2 separate regions of the Homo sapiens genome follow, and region 2 is linked to region 1. Evidence: promoter capture Hi-C in human tissues and cell types (Jung and others, 2019). All regions are on one chromosome and are shown on one strand. Each heading gives the region's core, a stretch centred on a gene start or on the middle of the fragment in contact. The rest is flanking DNA. Distances are from core to core; before and after follow the strand shown.

Evidence for each region. The method cuts DNA at HindIII sites, captures the fragments that hold promoters and counts their contacts. A contact is called where the count stands out against the background at its distance.
Region 2: a fragment that was not itself captured here is called in contact with the fragment with the promoter of S100Z in region 1 in 2 of the 25 tissues and cell types used here (bladder and heart right ventricle).

Annotation. Positions count from the first base shown.
Region 1 is chr5:76,848,612-76,851,642 of GRCh38, reverse strand. It overlaps S100Z (S100 calcium binding protein Z), which reads right to left and starts at 1,629. Exons shown (of 5, transcript NM_130772.4): 1 at 1,488-1,629. The HindIII fragment of the contact is 8,325 bases long and covers 1-3,031 here.
Region 2 is chr5:76,970,740-76,973,770 of GRCh38, reverse strand. It overlaps a transcript of CRHBP not described here. Among named protein-coding and RNA genes, the nearest start is that of CRHBP, 19 kb to the right of the region's middle. The HindIII fragment of the contact is 3,483 bases long and covers 1-3,031 here.

The DNA of each region.
Region 1 (3,031 bases), core at 380-2,879:
TGCTCCCTTCTTCCTCTACCCCAGAGGGGATCCCCTTTTTTTGCTGCTCCAGTCAACAGCAATACCCTCATTCACCCAACTGCATGGCCAGAAACCTGAGTATGATGCTATTCCTGGCCCCTCTCTCTCTCTCATGCAATCAGTTGCCAGGTTGTATCTCCTCACTCTCTGTTCCTTCCTCCTCAACCCTAGCGCCATAGTTCAGGCCCTTGTCACTTCTGGCCTGAATTACTGCATGAGATCCCAACTCACCTCCTGCACCTACTTTGCTCTTCTTCAAAATTAGCCTCCCCTGCCTGCTGGGAGGCACACCTGAGCTCCTCACTTAACCTCCTGGACAGGCCCTGCCATCCCCTGGCTAAATCTAAACTCCCCGCAGTGTGCCCACCCATCCCCTCTGCACCATCTGTGCCGCACACGTGGCACTGCCACTGTGCTGCCCATTCCTCTGCTCAGGTGCCAGTCCTCCAGGGAAGCCTCCGATGCCCCTCAGCTCCTGGGAGCACTCCGCCTCTGGGTGCCCCTGTATCACCTCATGCTTTCCTCTAGACCTGCACCGGCACTGGGTTGAAGGAAAATAATAGTAGCCAACGTTAATTAGCACATACTCTGGGCCAAGCACCCTTCTAGGCAGTTTAAATGTATTCCTTTATGTCATCCTCAAAAATCCCATGAGGAGGCTGGGGAGCGGTGGCTCATGCCTGTAATCGCAGCACTTTGGGAAGCCAAGTGGGAGGTGGAGGTTGCAGTGAGCTGAGATCACACCACTGCACTCCAGCCTGGGTGACAGAGTGAAACTCCATCTCAGAAAAAAACAAAAAACAAAAAAAACTTTATTTCTCTGTCTAACCCAAATTTTGTGTCCTCTCACCAACTTCTCCCCAGCCCCTCCATCCCTCTTCCCTCTCTTCTTCTGTAGGCTGAGAGCAGCCATTCCAGGGCTGATTGTCCAGGCATGCCCAGCACTGGCCAGTGTGAAGAGGAGGAGCATAGACCACTGCTGTGACTTCCTGGGAGTGGGCTTACACTGGCATCTGTGCAGGCTTCAGGAAAAAGAAGCGAAATCACGGCGTGGATCTAAGGGGCCAAGCCTCACCTTGAAGGTTCTTCTGGGTCTTTGGCCTGGACAAGAACATGAAACTTGAATTTCTCAAGGTGAGGTGAAGGCCAAGCAGGAAGCCAGGATGGTCACCAGGAAAGGAGCCAGAATGAACTAAGTGTTCTTTAGGGCAAGGAACTTACCAGAACCTCTACGCTCCGAGCTATGATCAGGCTGCTCTCTCCCTCTCTCTCTCTCTCTCTCTCTCCCCCACCCCCCCGACCCCTTTGTGGCCAAGGTAAGGCCACATTTTAGAGTGGAAGCCCCAAGGCAACCCCCCACCTCACAACCTCCACTCTTGTTGCCCTCTCTAATCCAACGCCTGCCAGGCTCACACTTCAACCACTAGACTGAAAAGCAAGAATCTTCCACAAAAATAATCTTTTACCTTAGACCTGCTTCCTGTGCAGATGAGATAAGGAGAATGCTCTTGTCTGAATTTCTGGGCGTGGAGATTAGCAAGCCGTTTTCCTCCCAGCAGCTAGAGCGAGCAAGAGGCCCTGCTGTGAGTAGTGCTGTTCTGAGTCTGCGTGGTCCAGACTCACCACACTGCAGGCACGTTTCTTCATCAGGTGGGAAAGCAGGAAGAGGTTTAATTTAGGACCTAAAGCTGGTATATTGCTGAGTAAAAGAAATGGGAAGGCACCAAGTCTCTAACGAAATTGCGCTGGGTGCAGTGGCTCATGCCTCTAATCCCAGCACTTTGAGAGGCTGAGGTGGGTGGATCACTTGCGGTCAGGAGTTTGAGACCAGCCTGGTCAACGTGGCGAAACCCCATCTCTACTAAAAATATAAAAATTAGCCAGGCATGGTGGCGGGCGCCTGTAATTCCAGCTACTCGTGAGGCTGAAGCAGGAGAACGCTTGAACCTGAGAGGCAGAGGTTGTAGTGAGCTGAGCTCGCCGCTGCCCTCCAGACTAGGTGACAGAGCCAGATTCCGTCTCAAAAAAACAAAAAAAAAAGAAAAAGAAACTGCTTGTGATCCAACACTCCCCCACTGGTGCCTCCTCATGGTGAAGAGCAATTACTCTGGCACCAGAGTCTTGGGGTTCAAATCCTTACTTCACCAGTATGTGACTGGAAAAGCTACCTAACCTGCCTGCTGAAGCTTCATGGCTAATAATTCCTCACAGCATTTCTTTTTTTCTTTTTTTTTTTTGAGACAGAGTCTTGCTCTGTCACCCAGGCTGGAGTGCAGTGGCATCATCTCAGCTCACTGCAACCTCCACCTCCCTGGTTCAAGCTTCTGCCTCAGCCTCCCAAGTAGCTGAGATTACAAGCGCCCACCACTAAGCCTGGCTAATTTTTGTATTTTCAGTAGAGATGGGGTTTCACCATGTTGGTGAGGCTGGTCTTGAATTCCTGACCTCAAGTGATCCGCCCACCTTGGCCTCCCAATGTGCTGGGATTATAGGCGTGAGACACTGCGCCTGGCCCAGGAGGAATAAGTTTAAGAGCTCCCATTGTACAGCATGCTATCTATAGTTAATAACAATATATCGTGTATCGAAAATTGCTAAGACAGTAGATGTTAAGTGTCTTTATCACCCCCAAAAAATGACAAGTATATGGGGCAATTAAGTCAAATAGCTTGACTTAATAATTCCACAATGTATACATAAATTAAAACATCAAGCTGTATTTGTATACCATAATATATACAATTTTTACTTGTCAATTAAATAAATAAATACACAGAAAAGGGCAGAGACAGGTCAAGAAGCACAGCACTCAGTACAGAAATACAGATAACAATATATTGAAAGAAAGAATTCAAAGATAAATTTTTTTTTTTTTTTTTTGGAGACAGAGTCTTGCTCCATTGCCTAGGGTAGAGTACAGAGACACAATCACAGCTCTCTGCAACCTCAACCTCCCAGGCTCAAGTGATCCTCCCACTTCAGCCTCCCAAATAGCTAGGACTGCAGGGTA
Region 2 (3,031 bases), core at 178-2,677, 120 kb before region 1:
AAAATCTGTGTCACAAAAATTTGTCCTGAGTCAAACATGTTTTCTCTCTAATGAAAAACTACATAGCAGATGAAGAAAAACTCATCTGGTAAAAGGCAAAATTAAATAAATATAGAAGCAGAAAGACTAAGTTGTTATTATGGACTTATTTTGCAGCCAGATTCACTAATGAATGTTTTAAACTAATATTGAAGAGAGGGCAATTCAGTGTGAGAAGACTGATATAAAACTGACTTTCATCCATTGCTGAATCCAATAGCAGGAGTTATCCTGAAATCCTTAGATGCTCTTCAGGGGTTTGTGAACTCTCAGGTATTTGCATGGTATTTTTGTATGTATAGAGATATTTTACTGGAAAACAATTTCTAGCTCCTGTCAGATTTTCAAAGAGGTCTAAGGATCACTGTTCTAAGACTATTTAAAGAATGTGGAAAGGTTGCATATGGTTATACCAGTTAAAGCTTAGTTTTCATAAGATCAAAGATGTGCATTTGAGGTATTTTTCTTTGGAAGAGTCAAGTCAGGCCTGTCTGGATAGTTGCAACGAAAACAGACAGAATAGCTAAGAATTGGATTTAGACAGGCCCATTGTATGAAGTATGATAATAGTGCTATATATATTTATCTCAGTGGCTTAACAAAATAAAAATTTATTTCTCATTCATACAAAGTCCAATGTGGATATGCATAGTCAATAGGCAGCCGTCTATGTGGTCATTCAGAGATGCAGGCTTCTTGCATCCTATGGCTCTGTTTTCCTGTATGGCCTTGGAGTCCTCTGTTCAAGCCTCTGTGTCTAACAGATAGTAGGTATGGGAAGAGAGAGAAGGTGTGGAGGATCATATCAAGGGGTGGACATCATATCCACCCACATTCTTTCTGTGATAATTCAGTCACGTGACCAAGCCTAACTGTAAGAGAGGTTGTAAAGTGAGTTCTGATGAACATATAGCATTTCTGCCCTACCCACTTAAATGAAGCAACAGTACCAGGGAGTAGTTGGAGGTAAAGAAGACATGCTGCTTTATATACTAGGAGAAAGTCCAGTATCATAGGCAGATCAAGATATTCCATAGATGGCAGGCTCGAAGACAGTGGCAGAAGAGGCAGGATTAGAGGAGGTAGAAAAGGATCCACAAGGCTGGGTGCAGTGGCTCATGCCTATAATCCTAACATTTTGGGAAGCTGAGGTGGGTGGATCGCTTGAGCCCAGAAATTTGAGACCAGCTTGGGCAACATAGTGAGACCCTGTCTCTATAAATTTTTTTTTTTTGAGACGGAGTCCCTCTGTTGCCCAGGCTGGAGTGCAATGGCATGATCTCGGCTCACTGCAATCTCCGCCTCCCGGGTTCAGGCGATTCTCCTGTCTCAGCTTCCCAAGTAGCTGGGATTACAGGCGCCTGCCTCCATGCCCGGCTAATTTTTGTGTTTTTAGTAGAGACAGGGTTTCATCATGCTGATCAGGCTGATCTCGAACTCCCAACCTCAGGCAATCAGCCTGCCTCGGCCTCCCAAAGTGCTGGGATTACAGGTGTGAGCCACTGCGCCCAGCCTATAATTTTTTTTTTTTTAATTAGCCACAGGTAGCATGCACCCGTGACCCCCAGATACTTGGGAGGCTGAGGTGAGAGATCACTTGACCCCAGGAAGTTGAGGCTGCAGTTAGCTGTCACTGCACTCCAGCCTGCATAATAGAGCAAGACCCTGTCTCAAAAGAAGAAAAAAGAGAAGCATCTAGAAAATTAGATGGTGACAGTGACATAAAACCTATGAGCAAAAATGCTCAGAATTTTAGACATGTAGGCAGGAAGAATTTGAGAAATCAGTTATTGGTTGTAGAAAGCAGATCCCTAGTCCCCTAATTGGTATTCAGAAAGACCTATAGGTAGGAGTGAGAGATAAAAACAGGGCCAGACAAGAACTACTACAATGAAATAACCAAGATCTGAAAGATTACAGAGATGGAGAATGGGGCAGAAGGGCAGATAGTCCAGACAATTTATGAGACAATTTGCTCATGACCAGAACGTCAGACAAGAGCTATTCAAATTCCTCTTGCCCAAGGTCAGGATTGGTCCTGGAGCAGTGCAGTGCCTGCAGACAGGGGTGAGCTGTGAGAAGAGATGTGTGTGAATTAGATAAATCCTGACATGATCTACCCTCAAACGTTAGGATTAGGGTGAGGATTAGGGCTGGGGTTACTATGCTTCTCAGTGACAGGCAACAACCTTAACTAACCCTAGCTTCCTCACAAATGTCCTGGGATGAAACAGTATAATTGAATTAGTGCAAATCCTTCAGCGTACAAAGCAAATGTCCCAATAAGAGTACGGAGGACCCAGAATGGCATATTTGCTTAGAAGAGAGAAAAATAAAAATAACAGCCAACACATGTGAGACACAGGTCTTGAGCTTTAAATATATCTAACCATTTAATGTGGCCAAAAACCTTTTGAAGAAGGCACCTTTCTCCTTCTGTAAAGGTACTGTAAATTACCCAAATTTTACAGATTAAAAACTAAGGAATGGAGACTTATAAGTGACTTGCTCAAGTCAGTGGTAGAGCTGGGATTCCAAGAGGGTTGGCTGCAGAGTCAATGACCTTAACCACTACGCTATACTTCCTTTCTTAGAAAGTCATATTGTTTCATATAAACTTTTACTCGCTTGATGGATATACCAATGAAGACACAACCTATAAATCTCCCCCGGAGATTTCATTTACCATTTTGTTTCCAGAAAGCTGCCCCATCCTTTTGGAACATAGGCTAAGTAGTAGACAGTCCAAGAAAAAGACATGGACAGTTCACCAGGGTGGACATCCTCTCAAAGAATGTAACCTGTTGTTCACTAACAAGCTTTGAAGTAAAGCATGTCACAAATGACCACAGAATGTCAGGGCTTAAGGACCACAGGAGCACCTGTCTTACTGCAGAGAGGCTAATCAGCTTGCAAAATCCCTTAGGAATAAAAGAAGTTTCCTAACTTTGATGGTGAGATGTAATAGAAAAGTGTATTTTACTCAGCATGA